4 separate regions of the Homo sapiens genome follow, and all the other regions are linked to region 1. The links are contacts of gene promoters, found by promoter capture Hi-C in blood cells and fetal thymus (Javierre and others, 2016). All regions are on one chromosome and are shown on one strand. The core of a region is centred on a gene start or on the middle of the fragment in contact, and the rest is flanking DNA. Distances in the headings are between cores, read along the strand shown.

Evidence for each region. The method cuts DNA at HindIII sites, captures the fragments that hold promoters and counts their contacts. A CHiCAGO score of 5 or more calls a contact.
Region 2: a fragment that was not itself captured here is called in contact with the fragment with the promoter of PRC1-AS1 in region 1 in 1 of 17 cell types (M1 macrophages); the score reaches 5.7 in M1 macrophages.
Region 3: a fragment that was not itself captured here is called in contact with the fragment with the promoter of PRC1-AS1 in region 1 in 6 of 17 cell types (endothelial precursors, M0 macrophages, M1 macrophages and 3 more); the score reaches 16.4 in endothelial precursors.
Region 4: a contact is called between a fragment that was not itself captured here and the fragment with the promoter of PRC1-AS1 in region 1, in 1 of 17 cell types (megakaryocytes). The highest score is 5.2, in megakaryocytes.

The regions. Positions count from the first base shown.
Region 1 is chr15:90,963,907-90,970,419 of GRCh38, forward strand. PRC1-AS1 (PRC1 antisense RNA 1) reads left to right here and starts at 2,463. Exons shown (of 4, transcript NR_051984.1): 1 at 2,463-2,772. PRC1 (protein regulator of cytokinesis 1) reads right to left here. Exons shown (of 15, transcript NM_003981.4): 12 at 6,498-6,513; 13 at 5,541-5,717; 14 at 5,173-5,214; 15 at 2,134-3,296. The coding sequence ends at 3,225. The HindIII fragment of the contact is 668 bases long and covers 2,251-2,918 here.
Region 2 is chr15:91,288,922-91,295,434 of GRCh38, forward strand. SV2B (synaptic vesicle glycoprotein 2B) reads left to right here. Exons shown (of 13, transcript NM_001323032.3): 12 at 600-759; 13 at 3,448-6,513. The coding sequence ends at 3,631. Among named protein-coding and RNA genes, the nearest start is that of CRAT37, 170 kb to the right of the region's middle. RefSeq lists an enhancer at 2,798-3,092. The HindIII fragment of the contact is 1,123 bases long and covers 1,782-2,904 here.
Region 3 is chr15:91,266,187-91,272,699 of GRCh38, forward strand. SV2B (synaptic vesicle glycoprotein 2B) reads left to right here. Exons shown (of 13, transcript NM_001323032.3): 7 at 396-506; 8 at 1,369-1,457; 9 at 2,255-2,419. Among named protein-coding and RNA genes, the nearest start is that of SV2B, 170 kb to the left of the region's middle. The HindIII fragment of the contact is 1,405 bases long and covers 2,813-4,217 here.
Region 4 is chr15:91,244,931-91,251,443 of GRCh38, forward strand. The region is part of intron 2 of SV2B (synaptic vesicle glycoprotein 2B); the gene reads left to right. It overlaps LOC105370972 (a long non-coding RNA gene), which reads right to left and starts at 1,147. Exons shown (of 3, transcript XR_007064760.1): 1 at 1-1,147. The HindIII fragment of the contact is 7,316 bases long and covers 1,206-6,513 here.

The DNA of each region.
Region 1 (6,513 bases), core at 1,213-3,712:
TTTTGTATTTTTAGTAGAGATGGGGTTGTTGCATATTGCCCAGGCTGGTCTCAAACTGCTGGGCTGAAGCGATCCACTTGCCTTAGCCTCCCAAAGTACTAGGATTATAGGCATGAGCCATCATGCCTGGCCAAGCCATTTTTTAAAATGGACAAAAGTCAACAAAGACGACAGAAGGATAGCAAGTGAGCATATGAGAAGATGCTCTACATCATTAGTCATTAGGGAGTTGTAAATGAAAACCATAGTGAGACACCACTCCATACACAGAATAACTAGAATTACATAAAGGCTGAACATACCAACTGTTGGTGAAGATGTGGAGAAACTGGAACCTTCATACATTACTGGTAGGAATGTAAAATGGTACAACTGCTTTGGAAAACAGTTTGGCATTTCTTCTTTTTTAAGATGGAGTCTTGCTCTGTTGCCCAGGCTAGAGTGCAGTGGTGCAATCTCAGCTCACTGCCACTTCCGCCTCCTGAGTTCAAGGAATTCTCCTTCCTCAGCCTCCTGAATAGCTGAGATTACAGGTGTGTGCCACCACAGCCAGCTAATTTTTGTATTTTTAGTAGAGATGGGGTTTCACCATGTTGGCCAGGCTGGTCTCGAACTCCTGACCTCGTGATCTGCCCACCTTAGCCTCCCAAAGTGCTGGGATTACAGGCGTGAGCCACCATGCCCGGCCCAGTTTGGCATTTCTTAAAAAGTTAAGTGTACACATACCATAGATGTGATCCAGCCATTTCACTCCTAGGTATTTATCCAGAAAAAAAAATATATCCATACAAAGACTTGTACATGAATGTTTATAACAGCCTTGTTTTTAATAGCCAAAAACTGGAGAAAAGCCAAATGTGAAAAATAAACCTAACAGGCGAATAAACTGGTATATCAACACCATGGAATACTAAGCAAAAAAAAAAAAAAAAAAAAAAAAAAAAAAAAAAAAGAATTATGGATATAAGCAACAATATGGGTAAATCTGAAAGTAGTGAAAGAACCAGACCAAAAAAATATATACTGTATGATTCTACTTACATCGAACTGTAGAAAACGCAAACTAATCTGTAGTAACAAATCGGTGGGCCAGGTACAGTGGCTCATGCCTGTAGTCCTAGCACTTTGGGAGGCCGAGGTGGGCGGATCATGAGGTCAGGAGATCGAGACCATCCTAGCTAATACAGTGAAACCCTGTCTGTCTGTACCAAAAATACAAAAATTTACCAGGCGTGATGGCACGTGCCTGCAGTCCCAGCTACGCGGGAGGCTGAGGCAGGAGAATCCCTTGAACCTGGGAGGCAGAGATTGCAGTGAGCTGAGATTGTGCCACTGCACTCCAGCCTGGCAAGAGCGAGACTCCATCTCAAAAAAAAAAAAAAAAAAAAAAAAAAAAATCAGTGGTTGCTCGGCAGGGTGAGGCTGGGAAGGAGGAGTGAGAAAGGGGTGGGAAGAACTGCTGGGGTAGAGAGACTTGGTTAACTGGACTGTGGCGATGGTTTTTCTCTTACGCTTCACATGTGTGCAGTTTATGTCCATCCTCCTTCAGTAACGCTGTTGAAGTTGGGCAGCCTCCCCATATTGAGACAAACGGCATTGAAGCCAGAAGCATCCTAGGACTCCCTTTGCTCTCTACACATCAGGGGTTAGGTTTTATATTTCTCACCAAAAAATTAGAGTAAGAGATATTCTTAATTTAGAAATGTACCAGAGAATATTTTAAAAATCACACTCGGCCGGGTGCTGTGGCTCATGCCTGTCATCCCAGCACTTTGGGAGGCAGGCAGATCATCTGAGGTCAGGAGTTCAAGACCAGCCTGGCCAACATGGTGAAAGCCTGTCTCTACTAAAAATACAAAAATTAGCCAGGTGTGATGGTGCGTGCCTGTAATCCCAGCAAATCGGGAGGCTGAGGCAGGAGAATCGCTTGAACCTGGGAGGTGGAAGTTGCACTGAACCAAGATAGTGCCACTGTACTCCAGCCTGGGCGACAGAGTGAGACTCAAAAAAAAAAATCACACTCCTGACTAAAAATTTCCAGGAGGTCCTTTTAGTTTTTTGTGTTTGTTTTTCACACACAGACCAACCAACTAAAAAGTGACTGGGGAAAAAAAGGAAACACCACACTATATCTTTTTGAAATGTAAGTATACAGATTTTAATTTATTTTTAAGAATAATTGTATATTTTAAAAACAGGACACGTACTGTATGAGTAAACAGCGTGGCTAACACCAAGTCCACACTGGTAAGCTTTTGAGAACCATTTACACTATGTTGACAGTAGTACTGCTGCAGGCAGACAGCGGAAGAATAAATAATAGTGCTTCAAGAAGAGTAGTGATTGAGAGGATAGGTAAAGAGGGCGCCTCATCGTGGAAGCTAGAGCAGGAACACCTCCCCAGTAGTGACATGTGCAAAGTTCCAGATCTCCACGACAAAGACAGCTCAACCCATTGGAACAAACAGACTCCCAATGTGGCTGGCAACTGCGGGGGTAGAAGAACTCAGGCAAAGTAGGCACAGGAATGGGGGAGATGAGAGCCAAGGGACAAACGCCGAGAAAGCGTTCCGACAAGCATGTGTGTTCATACATGCATACCCCCAACAAAGGGCAATGCACTGTGTAACAGAACTGAACACAATTTAACAAAGCTGCTCCCAGCCTTCCTGTCACCTCTTTGGCAGTAGGGCAGGCCATCTCAACTTCGGACACACAAAGACATTCTCTTCAGGAGGAAGGCTGTCCTGTGTGGTGGGGACAAGGCTTCAGGTAAGAGCAAAGCTATGATAGCTACAGCATTAATTGAACATGCCTAAACAAAAAAGATGTTAATTACTAGTTACAGGTATACATGCCAAAATTACCCCCAGGGATGGGCATAGTCAATCATTTTCCTACAGTGGTGAAATAAAACAAGCTTTGATCATGCTTCAGCAAGTAGAATTATGTGGTAGAGAAGTCAGGCCCCATATGCTAAAATTTGCACTTCTTGCCATAAACTTTTCATGTATATAAGTCAAAACCAAGTCTCCTAGGACCACTAAACCTATGATGGGCTTTCAACTGTAACACTCATTCACATCTTTAAGTTAGGCCCATGGTCATGGAACCTGGCCAAGGTTTCAAGCACGCCTAAGCTGAAGAAAAACTAAAGTCACCCCCATATAATTAGGTCCAGTCTAGGCACAGGAAGCCACAGCTGGTTGACTGATCAGGGCTTCTCAGGACTGGATGTTGGTTGAATTGAGGATTCCAGAAGTAGCATCAGATTTGGAAGCCTTTGAAAGTTCTCGCTGTTGAAAAATAAATAACATCAGTGGCCATACTGCCTCTCTTACACATGGCCCACCCTTCTAAGTTTGGTTAAGTGTCAGCAAAAGGTCCCTTGAAGGTAGTTTCTCTGAGATCCCTAGCCTGCAATAGGCTGCGTTAGGAGTAAAAGGTGAGGAACTCTGAGCACCATTCTATTAGTCACAGACAGAGTGCATGTGCACGCATGCCCGTGACCCCTTTTTCCTCAGCCAGTCCATTCTGTTACACCTCACAGAAGAGAAATCCTTCATACAGTCATGCACTGCATAATGATGTTTCAGTTAACGACAGGCCACATACACTATGGTGGTCCCATAAGATTATACCATATTTTTACTGTACCTTTTCTATGTTTAGATACACAAATACTTACCATTGCGTTACAATTGCCTACAGTATCCCAGGAATAGCCTGAATCAAAAAAACCCACAATTGCCTACAGTATTCTTTCTGTAACATGCTGCCCAGGTTTGTAGCCTAGGAGGAAAACGCCATACCATATAGTTTAGGTGTGTAGGCTGTTCTGTCTAGGACTGTTAAGTACACTCTGATATGTGCACAATGAAATTGCCCCACATTCTCAGAACATATCCCTGTCATTAAGCGAGGCATGACTCTACTTCACAGAGCTACTTTAGAGTTGTCAAGGTAAGTAGGCAACAAGCTTTGGTCTCTTGAGCCCTTTATAAAACAATGGGCCAGAACATATATCTACCAATCCCTGGGGCTGAGGCCTTGTAACCTGCTGGTGATTTGATCTCATGCTGGAGCACATGGTAGAGCAGCAAAAGATAAAGCATGAATGGCTATTGAGAAAGACAGATATTAGCAGAGGTTAGTTTACCGGCTTTGGTGCTGCCTGGTGGAGTCTATCAGCCATAGCAACCCAAACCAGACGAACCTACCTAGGACTAGCCACACAGATAGGCAGGTACATTTAAGCCTCAGATAAAATGGGCCTTGGTTGAACAAGCGAAAAAGAGAAAGCTGGACCTCTGTCCAGCAATCAGCCAGAGTGACACACACCCACTTTTAAAGGTAGAAGCACCACCAGCCACGTAATTTGAAAAACATGCTGGAGTAGGAAGCCAGTTTCAGTGATCAAAACTAGCTGCAGCCTTGGCCAACTGTTCCATTCTCTATCCCTGCAGCAATTAAGAGGGGAGGCAGGCTAGGGGTTTAACTCAATATCCCCTCAAGGGTGAGGAACATCCTCTCCTCTTGCTAGTAAAATATTGAGAGAAGAAATCACAGATTAAGTAAAAGGCAGTGTAGTTAGGTGTTAGCAAATATAGAGTAGGATACTAGGAAGTGAAGAGCATTCTGGAAAAACTTGCTTCCAGTGCTTCATCTATGCTTCAGTAGCTCAATGTATGGAAAGAGGCAAAGGTGAGGAAATCAGCATTAGCTAGCTGAGAATAGAGCTGGCGGTTAAGCCCTGAGGGGTTAGGAAGGCATATACTCCAGGAAATAATCAGCACACAGGCCAAGAGCCTCATTGTAGGCAGCACACAGCTGGGGCTCCCTTCCCCATGTGATTGGGGGCCTCTATTCTTTCCAGCTATTGCAGGCCTTTGATGTCACAATTGGGGAGGGTCAAGGTTTTCTGTTAAACGTGATTTAAAACTGTGCCTGACTTTAGGGGCTGAGAATCCAATTCAAGTCTGAACAAATTTTATTAATTAATCTGTTGTGAATGTAAATCAGATGTGTTTTTTTGAGTCCATGATAGGAATTCCTGCTTCCTTTGTAACACTGCTGAGATTATTAGTTAGTGTAGCCCTGTGCCCAGATGAATGAAGCCAGCAGATGACAGATCAGTTTGGAAAAGGGACATGCAGGGATTGCCATACAGACCTGAAGCCCAACAGTGGAACTGTCAGAGAGGGACGGATCCTTCTAAGAACAAAGAATTAAGACAATTACCAAGAACTCCACCAAGAGAGCACCAGGACAGTGATAGAGGGGTTGCCTCCTGCAGCCAGGGAATGGTATGTATTAAGCAGAAGGATCCAGGTTAAATGTCTAGTTGCTGCTGCCAACTTCCTTCCTACACAACCCCCCCTTAAATCACACCCACCCTGCCATGGTCAAAGCAGGAAAGGGATTCTCAGCCTCCAAGGTAGCTGCCCTAGCTAATAGCCTGGGTGCCCCTGGGAAGATACCCACTCTGCCCCAACTGTGTGCTCCCCAGAGACTGGTAGATATTAGAAAAGGTGAATTACCGCAAACTCAGAATAGGTGCTGGCAACAGAATTAATGCTGAAGTTGCGCTGGAGGGGGGCCGAGCCAGGGTACCCACCACTCAGGATGCTGCCGTTGAGCTCCAGGTTCTCCTTGTTGGCTCCATGCCTGCCAGTACGGGGTGTTTTCTTCCCTGAACAGGTGGAAGCAGCGACTGGCTGCAGAGAAAGGAAAGAGATCCATGTATCATCCTTCTAATGAACGTGCACACGCACACACAATACCTGCACTGGTCAAAGGCTGAGACTATCTTTATATTCATGTCTATAATCCTATACTTTTTAGTTAAAAAAAAAACATATATATATATATATATATATATATATATATATATATGGGGCTGGGTGTGGCTCATGCCTATAATCCCAACACTTTGGGAGGCCAAGGCAGGAGGATTGCTTGAGGCGACATGTTCGAGACCAGCCTGGGCAACATAGCAAAACACTGTCTCTAGAAAAAAATTTTTTTTAAATATGAATTCTTGATTTACAGAACACCTATCTTGAGCATAGTCTAATAAAATATTTGAAAGACTGAATGTGTTTTGCCACATACTTTCCACATCTCTACTGAGTACCTGGCATGTCTAGTGATCTGGTTTCACTGGGCTAGAACCCACATGTAGGGGACCTATCTCCATACCAGCTGAGGACTGGGCTTGGAATTGAGTCTACAGCGACCCTGCCTGATCTTCAGTTTCCCAGACACATCCCAGTGCTTCCCATGGTACCAGTGGGGCTCAGAGTGACTGTTCTCTTTTTTTGCACGTTAGTTTTGGACCATTATTTAATGGTGAGCTAGCTTATATCTGTCAACTCTCAGCATCTCAATAAGAACCAAATCCAGGGATCTTAGAATCTAGAACAAGTAGGTGGGGCCTCTGGGTGAACAGGCTAGGGACGCATGTGAGGATGTGCTTAGACACAGGGCATACTAACCTTGCTGCCAGAAGGA
Region 2 (6,513 bases), core at 1,093-3,592, 320 kb after region 1:
CCCACCTTGGCCTCCCAAAGTGCTGGGATTATAGGCCAGAATTCCTTTCTTTTTAATGTCTGAGTAGTATCCCATTGTGTATGTAAACCACATTTTCTTTATCCACTCATCTGTTGATGGCCACTTAGGTTGACTCCATATTTTGACTATTGTGAATATTGCTACATTGAACAAGAAGCACAGATCTCTTTGACATCCTGGTTTCAAATCAAGACTGAGGTTTTTGTTTTTGTTTTTTGGCCAATACTGATGTAGCTCAAGCACCTAGAACAATGTCTGGTACATAATAGATTCTCAACAAATGCCCCTATCTGCCCCGTCCCGTCACTCTGAGCTGGGCACCACCTTAGAGTGGTGACTTCAGAATCCTTCCTAAGTCTGGTGATCTGACCCACGCAGAGGGCTCTAATGCCATGTCTGGGGTGCCTTGTGAGGATTCCAGCTGTGCTCTCTCTGTGTGGAGGGTGAACCTAATACTTCAGGCAGCCTTGGCTTCAGGTGTACCAGTGAGGGTGGGAGATGGGGCAAGAACTGTGAGTGACAGCCATGTGCAAGACACAGGCCTCATGTTTCTTTTTGCCCTTGAACTCCCTCTGCAGGTGGCTCCATGCTAATCTCTGCAGTCTGCTGCTTCTTCCTGTTTTTTGGCAACAGTGAGTCTGCAATGATCGGCTGGCAGTGCCTGTTCTGTGGGACAAGCATTGCAGCCTGGAATGCTCTGGATGTGATCACAGTGGAGCTGTATCCCACCAACCAGAGGTCAGTTCTTCCCCAGGCTTTCCTCAGGGACTTGTTTGGGCTTCTTTGGCCAGAAGTCTACCTGCTCCCTAAATCTCATGCTGTGCATGGCCATCGTGGTCTTTCTGCTGTTCCGTGAAACAAACATCTTTTATGTTGAGCTTCTCCTGCATGGTGGATGGCATAGACCTGAAAGTTGGCAGGCTAGGGCTTGGATAGGGTGGGAAAGATGGCAAGAAGCAAAGGATGGGAGCAAACTATGTCCAGGAGAAGGAAATAAGAGTGAAAAGTTGGTAAAACCATATGTGTCATGTAATCCACAAGAGAGAACAGACCTTCAAGGGGAGATAAGGCAAAAAAGTGAAGAGCTGGAATAGCACAGGGTGGGGGCAAGGAGAGAAATAAAGGTCGGGAGGCAGCATGAAGTCCAGGGAATCTGCAGAGAATGTGGCAGGGAGGCCCAGGGGTTACTTTTATTTTGCACAGGTCGTATATGGGAAGAGGCCTTGTTTAAAGGCATAGGATCAAGGCCATTACTTAGTAATTGTTTTTCTTCGTGGAGGGGAATTGTAAAGTTTAAAGGAGAAGATAAGAGGCCCTGTGGTCAAAAAGGAATGTGAAGAGGTAAGGAAGGTGGGTAAATGAAATTCTGCAAAAACCTTAATGATATTTCCAAAATTGGCGACAGAGGTATTGGGATATAGATAACTAAGGAAGAGCACAACGTGTCATATTTGGAGCCCCTCTCATTTGAATCAAAGAACTGCTAAGTTTTACACAAAATAACAGGAGGACAAATGATTATTATTTGAATATGATGTGATTTTACATCTAGGAATCCTAAGAGAATTAACTTATGAGACCACTATAGACAAAAAGACAATGTGGTCAGGTGGTCAGTAATAAAACGAAATTATGTATAGGTTTTAAAATATATCGAAAAAGTTAAAGATGCAATTGATATCCATTTAATAATGGCAGACGTCATAAAATAATTAGGGATCAACTTGACAAGTGAAACACTCAAATGAAGAAAACCATAAAGCTTTACTAAGAGATATAAAAAAAGACACATAAGAGAAGATAAATATATGCCAACTCAGTGATTTGGGAGGCCGAGGCAAAAGGATTGCTTGAAGGCTGGAGTTCAAGATCAGCCTGGGCAATACAGTGAGACCCCTATCTCTACAGAATATATTAGACAATTAGCCAGGCATAGTGGCATGTGCCTGTAGTCCTAGCTGCTCAGGAGGCTGAGGGGGAGAGCTGCGAGAGCCCCGGGGTTTCAGGGTTACAGTGAGCTAGGATCACAACACTGCACACCAACCTGGGTGACAGAGACAGACCCTGTCTCAGAAAATGTATATATTTATGGATTATATATTTATATATAATTATGATAATACATATAATTAATAACATATAATTAGTATACATTATTATATATAAATATATATATTTAAAAGACAAGATATACCTAATTTTGGATAAGAAGATTCAATCTTACAAAAACGTCAATTTTTATTTAGTTTTTTTTCTAACATAAAATAATTCATTCAAAATTCAACAAGTTTTTTTTCCCCTCTGGGAACTTGAAAAAAGTTTATTTAAAAAAGGACATATGTTAAAAGATCCAAGAAAATACAAAAACAAAGATACTAAGACAAACAAAAAAGACTGGGTTGATGAATATAAAGCTACAGTGTGGTACAGTTATAGACAAAAATGAAAGAAGAGTTTTAAGAACAAAAATATACCCACACTCTTAATAAACTTGTGGTATGAGAAAGAAACGCTTTATTTCAGTTGGGGAGAGGTAGCATTGGGAATATTGCCTCTGCATACAGATGGGGTCATGAAAGAATAAATGATTAGTAATAGTTCTCACTGGAAAGTGTGATTGAAAGATCATAATTAGGATTAGGTTTTGCTGTTGCTGACAGCAACCTCAGGTAACTGTGGTCTTAAGAAGGTTAAGCATTGCATTTTTCTTTCCTGAAAAAGTCTAGAGTGGGTGGTGCAGGCTCTTTCTATCTCATTGTTTTTCCTTGCATGGACTCATCATGGTCCAAAATGAAACCATCTGTGTTCCATCATGAAGCAGGATAGAAGGAAAAGAATGAAGGGGAACAGAGCAAAAGGCCCACCCGCAACGTCTCTTACGGAAGCTTCTTGGGAACTGCTGCCACTTGCACTTACATCCCATTGGCCAAAACTAAGTCACATGGCCATGCTCAGCAGCAAATCAGTCTGGGAAATGTAGTCCTACATTTGGGGAAATGCTGTTTGTGGGCAACTGGCAGTCTCTGCTTCAGGAGGGTTGAGAGTGTTAAAAGGGGGAACACTTACACTTTCTGCTTTGTATACTTCTTCATCCTTTCAAGATTTCCATAGTAAGCATGTAGTACCTATAAAAATGTTTTAAATAGATATCTTTGAAAAAAAAACAAAAAAGAAAAACACTTGAAGAAAATACTTCAAAATGTTAATAGAGGTGATTGTGTCTCGGTGAAGAGGTTAGATATCCATGCATCTTTATATTATTCTGTATTTCCAAATTTGACTACAATGAGAATGTGTTATTTTTATATTTAGGAAAAAAAACTCCCTTGCACCCTCTTCCCCCTGCAATAAGGAAAAGAAAGAGCCCAGTCCTGTTCATCTAATGTGGTTCAGAATGTCAGAATTATTTCCATTCCTCTTTTACAGAGCAACAGCCTTCGGCATTCTCAATGGATTATGCAAATTTGGCGCCATCCTGGGAAACACCATCTTTGCTTCTTTTGTTGGGATAACCAAAGTGGTCCCCATCCTTCTGGCTGCTGCTTCTCTGGTTGGGGGTGGCCTGATTGCCCTTCGACTGCCAGAGACTCGAGAACAGGTCCTGATGTGAACAACCTATGGGAAAAGGAAAGGTCGAGAGAATCTTGTCCAGGACACTGAAATGCATCCACACTTCCTGCCTATCACGGTCCGGAGGACACCTTGGATAGCACGGGAGGAGAAGTTGACTTTGTGACCCCTAGTTTAGGACCCACTTCAGCTGTCAATATGTTTGTAACTCAGGTGACTGATTTGGGGGTGCCCTGAGCCACCCTTAGAATCACAGAGCTGCGTGTTTAACTTCAAGTCTTCCCAGTCCAAGGCAGGGAGAGGATTCTCCAGTGAGTGCACACACTATGCGAGGAGCAAGCATTTCTCTAAGTCAAGTGCAAGGACTTAACTTGCGTTTGAAAAGGAATTAGAGGGTCAGAAACACCCAGGTTCCTCCAGAAAGCTCCTTGGAGCCCAACAACTTAACAAATCAACTTGGCTGGAAGTTAGAGTCATTATATGAAGATTGGGCTTGAAGTATATATTTTTGCATTTAAAAGTATCACCTATCATATTTTCCACTCGAAAATTGACATAGTAGCATTGAGGATACTCTGATCTAGAAAGCCAAGTATTTGAGCAACATCTATAGAGATCTACTTTTCTCCTATGTCTCCTAGGCTTTCCATGATAATTAGGTAATACATTTAAGAAGGATATTTATTTCTGTTTTGCTCTATTCAAAGAAACGGAATGGGATAGTTATTCTGTAAACTAAGTTTGTATATAACTTTATTTGGGTTTAATTTCCACAACTGGTATCTGCAAATATTGCCAGCATTTTAGCCATATTTTGGGAGAACTTGGTGTTTGAGGTCCCAGGAAATGAGGTCTGATCAAATGAAATGCAAGCACAATTTCTTACAGCCATTTAACTTTCTGTTGGGAGGATGAATTAACAAACTCACATTGTGCAGTCTGCTTAATCCAGGCACTTTTCTTTGTGCAGGTGTAGTGAGTAGTTACTTCTCTCCCTTACACAGATGACTTGTGAAACTCAAGCTCACCATCTTCAGTGCTGGCATTTTACTTTGCCACTACCCAAAAACAATGTGAGATGTGTTCAGTGGCCTCTGGTACTCTTTGCAGGCAAGAATCAAACAACATGGGGACTGAGGGAAGGATGGGGAAGTGTAGCCACAGTTCTTCCAAATGTAAATACTTTTTGTTTGTTCTAGTGGTAAAATGCAAATGCAATCCATATTTGTTAGGATGGTCAGGTCTCATGAGAAATCTATGCTATGTGTCCAGAGCTTTTGAAACAGAGTCCATTGGAGTGGGAGTTAGGGAGTGTAGTGGATGCCAAATATGTTTTTCTTCAGTGCTTAAGAGAACTGTTTCCTGAAGTCCAGCTTTGAACATAAACAGGGGTGTGGGTTGGGGGAGGAGCTTAGGACAAACCTCTCTGATGAAGGTCAGCAATAGACTGAAGTCTTGACTGCATGGAAGAGGAAAAACATCAGAACTGTCTGACAATGGAGGGGACAGTGAGCTACGCACAACTGCCAGCGGAGGTGAACTTGCACCTGCCCAGGCCGGATGAACATCAGCCTGCAAGAACTAGTTGTTTGAGTTGATTTGCAGTGCTCTCAATGGGCAAGTGCCACATTTTCCCTGGCAGAGATCTCCAAAAATTTAAAACAGAATAATAATGGCTATATCGAGTGTTTTCTCAGTATTGGAGAAATGCTTAGGTCCTATGATAGCTTCGGGACATCTTTCTGTAATTTTCCTCAATTAACGGGTTGGTAGGGGTAAATCTTATGACACCTTTCCACCGTCGATTTGAGATCAGTTTTAATGGTTAAAATGTTTACTCTCCTTCTGTCAACCCTCACCTTTTTATTTACACCCCTCCCTTTTTTTCTGTACAGGGAGAGAAGACATATTGACTCTGACTGGACACCCTGATTCCTCCAAATATATATACCACTGTGTATTAATCTTTCTCTCAGTGTTTTATAGGAGTACTAACATTTATTGCTCTGTCAATAATGAAAGGCTCGATGTAATATAGCTGTAATTTACTTTCCATATGAATACAGTGGCTAGGTTCATAAAAGAGAATTGTGTGAGTCTGGGATTACCACATCTAAAACATTATTCTTTAATGGGATAATACAATTCATTGAGCAGCTACCACTTAAAAAACTTGCAGGACAGTTAGAGCCTGCATTTCTAGTTAAGATGGATCTTGTAAATTTAAAATTGGATTAACATTGGAGTGCTGGGGTGGCTGCAATAATTTGGGGGCTAACTCCATTTGGTTTCCAAGATCTCACTTCTGCATTATCTTTATGGCTCTTTAAACCAGCCACCTAGCCAATCAAGGGCAATTCCCATCTCATCCATCACTCAGGTCTTTGTAAAGGGTGCAGCCAAGCTCTGCAGACTTTTGCAGGATTGTCTAGCCTGAGTACCGGGCTACTTCTTAAATGCCGTCACTCCTGCTGAGATAAATGCGTCTTTAAAAATAGTCTCTGTGGCAGGTCACTGGGGGACAATGTACAGCATTCTGGCCATCCACTTCTTTTTCACTTCATGTTCTACCCCAAGAGACTCCCGATGTCGGCTGTGGAGGGTTAAAGGGATGAGGCTTTCCTTTGTTTAGCAAATCTGTTCACAGTTCTTGATGATGTATTTTATGATGCCCAGCTTGGAAATAGTTGCTTTCCATAGTCTCAACTGTATTGTGTCATCTCCTGATGCTGATTTTTGATCTTTTGTTTTATTAAAAATAATTAGTGAAAGAGGTGTGCCTATCTGTGAAGTTTGTAGTACATCATCCTGAGGTCATGTAACAAGTAAACCCCAACCCAGCGTTCCCTCCTACGTTGTGTTAGTTCATTAAAACTAAATAATAAAAATAACTGTAAGAAAACCTTAAGGACTGGGGTTAGA
Region 3 (6,513 bases), core at 2,265-4,764, 300 kb after region 1:
CCCCCACTGTTTTTAGGGTTTAAAAAACAATAGCCAAGCTGTCTTAGACCTAGCCCTCGGGAAATGATGAGTCCGTTGTCCACTTTCCAGGGACTGCTTTCTCCCCGCGGATTGCCCAGTCGCATCTGTATTTCCCTTCTGCTGTCTCCTCATATCCTCAGTCCTTTGGCTGAAGAAAGAGATGGAGACACTCTATGGCTCGTCTTTATCCCTAGATGAAAAGTTTATTGGAGGAGGTGATGGAAACAGTTTTTGAATTTTTTTGAGTATGCTCTTTGAGAAATCGCAGACTCCTCTAGTCCTAAATCAGTTTAAATAGTTACATTAAACTACACATTGAAAACTCTGACACAAAGTGGGGTTCAAATTCTCTATATCCTATTTTTACTTTTCAGGTTTCCAACATCAAAACTCCCAAGCAAATGGATGAATTCATTGAGATCCAAAGTTCAACAGGAACCTGGTACCAGCGCTGGCTGGTCAGATTCAAGACCATTTTCAAGCAGGTATGATTGGGAACTTACTTTGGATGAGGATGCGTCTCTATGGGAGTCTCTTACCTTAGTGGATGAAAAATGCAGCTCCTGAACATCCCCACCAACCTGGGCCAGCGTGATGGAGAGGAAGCAACCCTGGAGGGGGGCGTTTGGGCTCCAGCCCACGTCTGCCTCTAGCTTGCTGTGTGCCCTGGAGCTGAAAACTCTCTAAATCTTAGTTTCTTTTCTTTGTTCTTCCTTCCCAAGGCAGGGATTTTGAATGTAGATAAAATGTCTAGTCTGAGTAAACATTATTCTCTCTAGCAAATTTTAAAATAATCACATGGAGGAAGAAGTGAGTAAAATAAATGACCCCTTGAGGCTTGTTCTTGATTTCCAAGAAACATTTTTCTAAAAGGGCAATGCCATTTCTCTGGAGCACTGGCTCCTCCAAGTAGGGAGCCAGTCAGCTATTGAGCACTGAGGCAGCCAGACAGCCAGCGTCTATTGGGACTGGTTGGCCTTCATGGTGTATGGTCAGTAAATGTTTGCAATATCCCCCTTGCCCACAGGCAGGGAGTAGAACTCAGCAGTCAAGGTTACTCAGTGCCTTGAAGTCCTAACTCAGTGTGCTTTCAATCACATTCATGGAATGCTGTGCTCCCGGGGAAAATCCTATTGGACTGTTAGAGTATGAGGCCAGCCAGTAGGAAGAGAAGAGGCTTTCCTTGTTATTTGGACAGTTTTGCTGCCTCTAGGAGACAGTGGGGTACCGGTTCTCTCCATGGGTTCCTAGGCAACTTATTAGAATATCTGAGTAATGAGCTCTTCGTGGGAGAAACAAAGTCACACATTGCTTTCTTTAACAATCCTTCTCTGGTATGGGTTGTAGGTCTGGGATAATGCCCTGTACTGTGTGATGGGGCCCTACAGAATGAATACACTGATTCTGGCCGTGGTTTGGTTTGCCATGGCATTCAGGTAAGTTCTGTCTTACTTAAATTTCGTAATTCCCTGTGCCTCAGTGGCCTCCTTTACACATTGAGGATTACAGTGAGTTCTGACTTAGAATTTGTATCAGGTAGGATGCTTTGGTGGCAAGTAGCAGAAAACCAACTCTAGTGGCTTCTACAAAGAAGAAACTTTTTTTTTTTTTTTTGAGACAGAGTCTTGCTCTGCACCCAGGCTGGAGTTCAGTGGCATGGGCTTGGCTCACTGCAGCCTGTGCCTCCTGGGTTCAAGCTATTCTCCTGCCTCAGCCTCCCCAGTTGCTGGGACTACAGATGTGTGCCACCACACCTGGATAATTTTTGTATTTTTAGTAGAGATGGGGTTTTGCCATCTTGGCCAGGATGGTCTTGAATTCCTGACCTCAAGTGATCTGCCTTCCTTGGCCTCCCAAAGTGCTGGGATTACAGGTGTGAGCCACCACATCCAGCCAGTGGGGATGTCTTTAGTGTTTCCCTATTCACTAAGATTCTGGCTGAGACATGTATATTTTACATGTTAAGGAGGTGTCCCTCAACCCCTAATCTATTGGTGTTTGTATCAGGAAAACATTTCTTTTAAATCAAATGCCTTTTCAGCATTTATGGAGGTGGTCATAGTTTTCCCCTTGTATTTATTAATATGAGGATTTATATTGTCAGATTTTCTAATAATGAACCAAATTAATGTATTTTCAATGAGTTTGATCTGCATCAAGTCAAGAGTGTAGACCCTGATCATGAAAGAATGAATCCTGTTGTTGTTGCAACCTTCTGCCTTCTCCACTCCAGTTACTATGGACTGACAGTTTGGTTTCCTGATATGATCCGCTATTTTCAAGATGAAGAATACAAGTCTAAAATGAAGGTGTTTTTTGGTGAGCATGTGTACGGCGCCACAATCAACTTCACGATGGAAAATCAGATCCACCAACATGGGAAACTTGTGAATGATAAGTAAGTGAGTGATCACGGGCTTCCCTCACATCAGGGTGACAGTCGTGGGGACTGTTATTGGGAGGGAGCCGGAGGGAAGATAAGAATCAAATATGGCCGGGAATGAGCGCCAAGGCTGGTGTCATCATCACAACCTGTCATGGCTGCCAGTGACGCCATAGCTCCCCTAGTGGCTGTGTCTGTGTTGTGCTGGCTCCCCGACACCCTAATCTCCTGGTGAGAGCTATTTCATGTGAGGATGGAGACATTTGACTGAGGACGGTCAGTTGGGCCATTTTTCCAAGTGATGTCCCATTAAGAGTGGCTGCCCAGAGAAAGGGCCTAGGGCTCTTACTGCTGAGATTCCCGAACTAGTCCAAAGCCTGGGTGTTGAGCTTTTACTTTGACCCTAGAAGCTTTTCCATGCCAGGACAAATAAAGCCCTGTTGTTATTCTTTCACCTAATATTCCTTTGGAGCGTTGATCAGTATGGTCCACAGTCAGCTAGGAGTGTTTTTTAGAGGAAAAAAAAAAAATCAGTGGAGGATTAGAAAAGTCCTGTTCACAGCTTTGTGGGGCTGCTTCCTCAATCCATTTTACTCCTCCTCCTCCTGGTTCTGGGACAAATGAGATGGGCCATCCGCCCTGTTGTGCTTTAGGAATGCCTCTTTGAAACTGTCCTCTGAAACCCTCAAGATGGATCAGGGCAGGACCTTAATCACGCTTACCCAAGCCCACATTATTCACTAAACTGAGCATTTACCCCTCTGCTGTGTCCCTTCCTGAACTGTACTTAGCAAGCTCATCAGGTTGTGAATGGTAAGTAAATGGGTGGCCATGGGCTATACAGTGGCACCTGAAATACCATGGCCCAGATAGTTCAATGTCAGTCACATTAACTGCCCCATATTTACCACTTCAATACAAAATTAACACCACGAATTCTCACCTCTGGTGAATGTTGTATCTCCCTCTGTCTGCACCCACATATGCGTCTGGTGTCTCAGTAAAGTCCCTACCTGTAGTGACTCCTGGCCACTTTAGGAAAGGAATGGCTGGGTGAAGCCCAGGAAGGATACCTCTTTCAGTTTATTCTATATTGTTCTTACAGGCTAGACTTTAGCTAAGGCTTCCTGTTATTTAAGGTGAGAAAGTGTGCAATAAAAAGGAGAATATTATTTCTACCAATATCAGACCTTTGGGAAGGAAGGTTTTGGACTAAGTATCATTGACATGGGTTCAGATTTTCAGAATTTTTAAAATGCTGAAGCCCAGTTGCAGACATCTCCATACTCATATACCCATGCATCTATACATCCCCTACAGAGACAGTTCAGAGTCATTATCCTCTGCCCAGAGTGACCACTCTAGGGATGGCAGCTTGTGGTGGTGGAAGGCAGTTCCCCCAAGATGTTTCATTGTCTGAGCTCTTTAGTATGTCAGGAGGTCTTGTGTTGACATTGCCAAGGAAGAAATATCACCCTTGCTTTATTAGGATACTTTGGAAATATTGAAAACTAAGGGACATTATGGATGACTAGATGTCACCCATGGGGTGACACCATTCCTTGCAGAGATGAATTCCCTAAAGGAGACCTCATTTCTGAAGTTCCCAATGTTTAGTGATACATTATTTTGATACAAGTAATACTAATGGTAGCAGTGACAGTGATAATAATGCCAATGATAGTCACTGTAGCAGGCAATGTTAATGAGCATTGCTGTGTGCCAGGTGCTACCTTAAGTGCCTTACGTAGATATCTCACAAAACTCCAGGGAACAAGAAATATGCTTTCTCTTTTGCAAGTGGGGAAACAGAAGCTTAGAGAGGTTAAGTATCTTGCTCAAGATCACACAGCTAATATACATAGAAATATCTATCTCCCAACCCATGCATTTGGACTCCAGATCTTGGACTCTTGACAACTACAAATATTTTCTCATTGGGAAACTCTTCATTCCTACAGAGGCGCTGTTTTACATGATACTTTCTGCATTAAAGTCAATACAACGCAGAGTCCTTGTGATTTGTAACAAGCAGGTTTTGCAGTTCTGACACTTAGCTAGGCAGAAAGTGGAGACTTTTGATCCACTCTGTCATTTTAACTTTGCTCAGCTTCTCCGGGCTTTCAGCAAACTGCTGGGTGGGAGTGAGGAGGAAACAGGGGCTGAAGAAAGCAGTGTTGAATCCTGTGGATGATGGGGGGATGGTGAATCCTGTGGATGATGGGGGGATGGTGAATCCTGTGGATGATGGGGGGACGGTGAATCCTGTGGATGATGGGCGGACGGTGAATCTTGTGGATGATGGGAGGACGGTGAGTCCTGTGGACGATGGGAGGACGGTGAGTCCTGTGGACGATGGGAGGACGGTGAGTCCTGTGGATGATGGGCGGACGGTGAGTCCTGTGGATGATGGGAGGACGGTGAGTCCTGTGGATGATCGGAGGACGGTGAGTCCTGTGGATGATGGGCAGACGGTAAGTCCTGTGGATGATGTTGTGGATGGTGAATCCTGTGGATGATGGGTGGATGGTGAATCCTGTGGATGATGGGTGGACGGTGAATCCTGTGGATGATGGTTAATGAATTTTGTGGATTCAGGACCCCCTGAGGAACATTATGGATGACTAGATGCCTCTCCCCGCCCCACGGGGTGACACCATTCCCTGCAGAGATGAATTCTTTTAAGGAGACCTCATTTCTGAAGTTCCCAGTGTTTAGCAGATATATCATTGTGATATGAGTAATAATATTGATAGTAGTGACAATGAAATTGCTAATAATGGTAACTGTAGCAGCCAGTGTTATTGCCAAGGTCTGGGAATGTATAGGTGTGCCAAGGATTGTCTTGGAGTGGATTGTCTTCACACATTTTCTACCATGTTTCTATGCTTCAAATGTACATAGATGCTTTTGTATGATTATGAAAATATAAATTTCTTCAAAAGTTGTAATGAGTTCATTGTAACTTTCATCATATGGTACATGTTTTTTAACCAACAGACACTAAACCTATACCCACTATTATTTGAAGCCCATAATTCCCCCACTCCCTCCCCAGCAACTTGCTTGAATAAAAAGGGTATTTTTCTCCTTGACTGGTTAGGAACCTTTGAAAGCGATCTAAGGAATGAAAGGAGCCTGGCTTCTTTTCTTGAGTTATGCTGCCATCTGCTGGTCGTGAGCTGGAAAACAGCTCATCTTTGAAAACCCCAACCCTCTTCTGAGCGCCTCCATGAATACACGCGTGTTCTTTGGCTTCCTTGGGGGCATTTCTTCTATCCTTACCAGTATTCCTCCTTTGACTTTATTCATACTTGGCTGATTTAAGGTTTCGATGGAAATTATTTTATTGAGTATCACGCATGGTGGAAAATTATTTTTTGTAAACAGAGCTTCACCCACGGAAGTTGTTGACAAAGGAAATTCTATTGAAACCTCAGTTTCATCCTGCAGTAAAACCAATCTCTTTGCCCCCAAGAAGAAACAAAAGTGCCAAGGTTAGTTTTGGTCTGCTCCCAAAGCATCATCTGCATCCTTCTAGTGCCTTTTTGGGGATCTGGGGGCTCTGAGTACCCATGAAGCTTTTGCTTCAAAACCTGTGAGTTTTTGGAAAGTGCAAGAAAGGCAAAAGAATAAGTTCATGTTTTAAACCCTGAGCCAAAATGTCAGGCCAGGCTTCCTTTATTGTTAGCTAAAAACAGGATAGAGTTTCTACCCAGAATATGTATTAACTAAGTAATTAATTAACAAACTTACCTTCTCTTCCTGGGAAGACATTTCTGCTTGGTAGGGCTTTCTTCTGTGAGGGTTAGGAGCAGGAGAGCATTATCTTATTTAAACCTTTCTGCACATCAGGGAGAGATGCCTGATTTCTGTCTGTGATAGGTCGTGACCCAGGAAGTAATGTCTTACTCCTGGCGGTTCCTCAAAGCTGATGCTGTGTTCTTACTCAGGTAGGAACGTGTAACTGCTCACTCAGATGATTTGCCAATGAAGGATGGGAGAAAAGCTCTCTTGAGTTTTTAGTAAAGGTCAGAGGTGAATAGCTCAGTATGAAAATGAAGTTCACAAGATTTAGCTCTAAAATGAGGCCGGTAGGATAGCAGGGG
Region 4 (6,513 bases), core at 3,614-6,113, 280 kb after region 1:
CTCATAATCCTCTCAGGATAATGAATGCATTTAATTTCTACATATTCAAGCAAGAAAAAGGTTAGAAGTGGTTTATTTGTCTTTGGTTAATTGCTAAATAAAGAAGCTCACCCAGTCAGGGCCTCTTCTTTCTTGTCACCACGGTAAGCCAGTGCGGTCTGATGGTACATCTTATCCTGCTGCCTCTGGTGTGGAGAGGAAATCTTCTGTCTGTGTGAAAAGCATCTCTAAAGCTGAGAAGAGGTTTCTGATATCTGCCAGCTCTCTAGAAGGATATTTGGCATTGTGTCTCAAGAGCCACAAACTTGTTGATCTCCTTCGATCTCATGATTCGATTTCTTGGAATCTATTCTGAGCAAATAACTAGAAACACCAACAAAGACATATGCATAAAATATTCTTTGCTGAGTTGTTTATTAAGTGAAAAGCTAGACTATGAAGCTTTCGAGACAGAAAGATTTCTATCGTGTAAATACAGTATGTAGTTATACACGTACCAATACAAATACAAAAATAAAGCCTGCTGACAACAGCTGTCTCTGAGTGGTGGTATGATGAATAGATTATTGCTTTACCTTTTATACATTTTGGGGGGTATTCCTCAGATTTTCTTACAGTGAATAGGAATTACTTTTAGATTGTTTTATTTATTGAACAAATATTAATGGAGTACCTACTATGTGTACATCTCTGTGCTAGAGACACAGTGTCGAACTCTCCTCAAGCAAAATCAACATGGTCCCTTCGTCCAGGAGTTTACAGTCACAGGAGTTTGGCAAATATCAAACAAATAAATATATAACATCAAATAGAGACATGTGATACAAAGGAAAAGCAATAGTATGCTGCCAAAAGACTATCAGGGACGACTGAAATTTGGAACAGGAACCAACAAACTGTGGTCTACAAACCTATGACCAATTTTTTTTTTAACATTTTTAAAGGGTTGTAAATTTAGGAATAATAATATGATGTGACAGAGACCATAGAAGATTGGCAAAGTACATTTTACAAGTAAAATATCTATGCTCTGTCCCTTTATAGAAAAAGTTGGTGGAGCCTTAGTTTGGAACATCAGGGATGCCTTTCTAAGGAGATGACATTTAATGTGGGAACTGAAGAAATATGAGTTAGCAAAAAAAAAAAAAAAAAATCCCCCCTTCAAAGTCTTGTTAGAGGAAACTTCGAAAATATTTTTCAAAAAAAGCTTTTTATTGGAAGCTGGCTTCTTCTCCAGGTAAGGAGAGAGGGAGGTCTATTTAAAGGGCATACTACTAAAAATAAGTTTCCTATGCTATTCTCTATCCTTTTTCCTCATATTCCTTTAGTATATGATTGGCTTGTTTTTAAAATATCACCATCTTATTTTTATTTTTCTAATCCTGTGGCTTTCCAAGGTCCTAGACAATTTTAAGCTGTACTGCTAATAACATCAATAGCAGCTTTTATTAAATGTGCATTTACTTTGGTGCCAGGCATTTTGCTAGATACTTTAAATCCACTCCCCTATATAATCCTAACAACTCTGCAAAGATGGGCACCGAATTTTACAAAGATGTAATAGTGGTCAGAGAGGCTGAATGGGCTGCCCACAGGCATGCTGTGGTAGTCATGGAGCCAGGACCATGGCCCAGATGTCTCAGTCTCAGAACTGGGCTCTTTCTTGCATGGTGCCTGTCACTGCAGGCTCCTCCCTCTTCCAAGGAGGGGTATTCTATTTCCTTTGTTGTGTTACCACCAATTAAAAGTCTTTTCCACTCCACCACATCGCTCCTCCTTTCAACCTCCTCCTCCTCCTCCTCCTCCTCCTCCTCCTCCTTCTTCTCCTCTTCCTCCTTTGCTCTGCAAGTAGCAATCCTGGTTTTCAATTTCCTCAAAAATCTCAGTATATTAAGGGATCATTTCCCTAATATGCCACCGAGCTTGTTGAGTGAAATTGAGGGAAGATTGAATTTCTGGCTTTCTAACTAGTTCCTTATCTGCTTCACACTAAGGTAATTTTTGATAACTCCACTGCACTCTAATTTTCCAAATGTATTTTTTAAATTTCTTTTGCTAAAGACAGATTTTAAATGAGTCTAATAACATAGCCATTCCAGAGACATTGTTAATTTTGTATTTCCCTTCCCTGGTGATAGGCTCATTTTTCCTTCATTCTTCCTTTTCCTAGACTTCAAAGACAGCATTTGAGAAGCTCTTCTTATTCTCTCTGGTACCTCCATGACCTTGGACAGTGAGGTTTAGTAGTGAAAGCACAAGGCCTGGAGCCAGGAGACCAGAAATGCAGTGCCAGCAGGTCCTCGGCCAGCATTGAGGTTCTGGGCAAGTTATTGACCCTTTCTGGGGCTCAGCCTCCTCGTCTGGTAAAACTAAGGGGTTGGATTCAACATCTAACTTGTAAAGTTTTTCAATTTGTCTAGGTGTCTAGATCAGTCATGGGATAGTCAGGAGACAAATCATACCAGTTACTTGAAAAGAGAGATTTTAATGTAAAAATTATTAACAGGATGGGTGAAACGCTTTTGAAAAGTTTCACTGAGGTAGCAAATGCAGGGAGAAGCTACCTCCCCTAGGGCTTGGAGAATAAAGGAAAGAGATTGGAATGATTATAACTTAGAATCTTGAAAAGGGGTTCCATAAAGCTGCAACTCAGCTCTCTTAAGAGAGGCCCTGGCTGGCAGTTGCTGGTGTTGGAGAGGAGAATGAAGTGCAATGTGGCCTCTGCTAATTGGATGCAGCTGCTATCTAGAAAGGAATTGCTGCAGTCAGGCTGAAACCTACAGGGAACAGAAAGGACAGGTGCTTTCTTCTTTCCCCAGCCCTGAAGCCTCCCTCTAGCGCCCTCTATTGGCAGAGCCTAGCAGAGAGTGGCTGGCAAAACTGACCGGGATTTGTGGACCAAGTAAGGTCTAGGAGGGTGGCTTTGGAGCTGAGGGACAATAATTTCATAACTGCACAGTGTTCATTGCTAAGATTGCAAACTGGTAGGTTAGAAGCCACTTTTTTGTTAAGGATATCTTTATTATTATTATTCGATTCTTTTTAAAGTCATTTATCATAGTCGTACATATTTTGGAGCACCTGTGATATTTTGATCCATGTGTACAATGTCATAAAGATCCTTGTCACGCCTGTAATCCCAGCACTTTGGGAGGCCGAGGTGGGCGGATCACGAGGTCAGGAGATCAAGACCATCCTGGCTAACACGGTGAAACCCCGTCTCTACTAAAAATACAAAAAATTAGCCGGGCGTGGTGGTGGGCGCCTGTAGTCCCAGCTACTAGGGAGGCTGAGGCAGGAGGATGGCGTGAACCCGGGAGGCGGAGCTTGCAGTGAGCCGAGATCGTGCCACTACACTCCAGCCTGGGTGACAGAGCATCTAAAAAACAAAAAACAAACAAACAAAAAAATGCCTTGTATGGCCTTAAGTAGTTTAATCAAACATTTGTGTCTGAGTTTATGTTTTTAATCTGCATATCTTCTTCCTTGGAAATCCACAGTACTTCATCTTTCATTATTTACATTTTTAAAAAATTAATTTAAAATTAATGAATGGGAAGGCAACTTGGAGATCATCTCTAGTTCAGTAATCGGTTTATAAATGAGGTGATTAATACCCTCAGAAAGTGAGAGGTTTTGCTCCCAAATCATACAACTAGTGAATGAGATCTTTGGGTTCCAAGGCCTGGATTCTCATCATTATTTACTGTTTACAGGAGGACAGATGTGCTCTAGCCTCTTGCTACTCAAAGTGTGGTCCCCAGACCAGCAGCACTGGCCTCAGCTGGCAGCTTGTTAGAGATGCAGAATCTCAGGGCCCATCTCAGGCCTGCTGGATCAGTATATGATTTTAACAAGATCCCCAGGTGATTTATGTGCACAGTAAAGTTTGAGAAGTGCTGAAGACAGCTTTATTGAAGTAAAAGAAAAAATAGACTTTTATTGGATGCTAGTGTTTTTCTCTAGGGTGGACTCAGGGTGTGGGGTGTGGAGACTAGTTCTCAGCAAATCTCTGGAGCACTCCTCTAAGTCTCTTTTCCCTCTCCCTGCTTTCAGTTTATGGGCCCATACACATACATGCAAACACCCATGTGCACACACACAATCACACGTGCATGCATCCATACATCTACGTTTTCACACACACACACACACACACACACACACACACACACACATGTTTATGATCTGGCTTCTGTCCTACCTTCTAGCCTGAACCCTCACCAGATTCCCCTACATGAACTATGCTCTACTCACGCTAGGCTACTTACAAGAAGTTGCCCGAACATATCAGACTTTCTTTTTGCCTCAGTCACCAAATGGAAATCAGACTAAATTCTGTTTGTCTTTCAAGAACAGCTCAATGTCTTTCTCTTGGAAGCCTTCCCACATTGAGTGAATTATATCCAAGGTTTGCTCTTCTTCTGGGTTTTAATAATACCTGACAGATACCTTTATTGAGCACCTTTTTTCTCACTCATAGATAATCATACATTTTATTGTTTATCTCCTTGAAAGGATGGAACCATTCCTCACTTGACAAGCAATACTGGGGGTGAGCAGATGAAGAAAGAATGAACTAATGTAAAGAGAAGGAATCTAACAAATGCTTATCTGTAAAGAGCAGCAAAGTGTAATAGTTAAAGGATCGAGTTGGTTTTTTGAAAAGATAAACAAAACTGACAGACTTTTAGCTAGACTAAGGAAAAAAGAAGGCTCAAATAAAATTAGAAATGAAATGAAAGAGAAGGCATTACAACTGATACCACAGAAATATGAAGGATCACAGGAGATTATTATGAAAAATTGCACACAACCAGTTGTGTAATCTGGAAGAAATGCATACATTCCTAGAAACATGCAATCCGCCAACACTCAATTATGAAGAAATAGAAAATCTTAACAAACCATTAATGACTAAAGAGATTGAATTAGTAACCAAAAACCTCTCGACGAAGAAAAGCCTAGGACCTGCTGGCTTCACTGTTGAATTCTACCACACATTTAAAGAATAAGTAATGCCAACCTTTCTCAAACTCTTCCAGAAAATTGAAGGTGAAGGAATATTTACAAACTCATTTTACAAATCCAGCATTACTCTGATACCAAAGCCAGAGAAGAACACTACAAGGAAAGAAAATTACAGGTCAATATTCCTGATGGACACAGATGCAATAATCTTCTACAAAATACTAGCAAATTAAATTCGACAGCACATTAAAAGGATCATACACCATGATCAAGTGAGATTCGTCCTTGGCATGAATGGATGTTTAAACATATGCAAATCAATAAATGTGATACACCACATTAACATAATAATGGATAAAAATCATATGATCATCTTAATAGATGCAGAAAAAGCATTTGACAAAATTCAGCATCCTTTCGTGATAAAAATTCTCAACAAATTAGGTATAGAAGGCCACATATGGCAAGCCCACAACTGACAATCATAATCAATAATGAAAAGCTGAAAGGTTTACCCCTAATATCAGCAACAAGACAAGAATGCCCACTCTTGCCACTTCTATTCAACATAGAGCAATTAGGCAAGAAAAAGAAATAAAAGTCATCCAAATCAGAAATGAAGAAGTAAAATGGTTTCTGCAGATGGCATCTTATACATAGAAAACCCTAAAGACTCCACCAAAAAATTGTTAGAACAAATAAACAAATTCAGTAAAGGTGTAAAATAAGAAACCAACATAAAAATAGTAATGTTTCTATATGCTAACAATGAAGTATCTGAAAACAAAATCTAGGAAACAATCTCATTTACAATAACATTAAAACATACTTAGGAATGAATTTAATCAAAGAAATGAAAGGTCTTTATACTGAAAACTATAAGACATTGATGAAGAAATGGAAGAAGACACAAATAGATGGAAAGATATCCCATGTTTATGAATAGAAAGAATTAATATTGTTAAAGTATCTATACTGCCCAAAGTAACCTACAGATTCAATGCCGTCCCTATCAAACTTCCAATGGCATTTTTCATAGAAATAGGAAAAACATCCTAAAATTCATATAGAACCACAAAAGATTTGGATAGGCAAAGCAGTCGAGCCAAAAGAACAAAGCTGATAGCACCACACTACTTGCTTTCAAATATACTACAAAACTGTAGTAATTTAAAACAATGGTAGTGGCATAAACACAGACATATAGACCAATGGAACAGAATAGAGAGCTTAGAAATAAATTCACACATTTATGGCCAATTGATTTCCAACAAAAGTGCCAAGAACACACCATAGGGGGAAAAACAGTCTCTTCAATAAATTGCGTTGAGAAAACTGGATATTACATGCAGAAGAATGAAACTGGACCCTTATCTCACACCATATACAAATATACTACATTTCCTTAAGGCTAGACATTGGTTGTAGCTTGAAGAAAGGTCCTTCTTGGATGGTAATAACATAGCCAGCCTTGCTGGCAATTGCTGTTTTTCACTTCTACCGTGTTCTTCCTTCCTAATATCCACTTTGCCACACTTTACC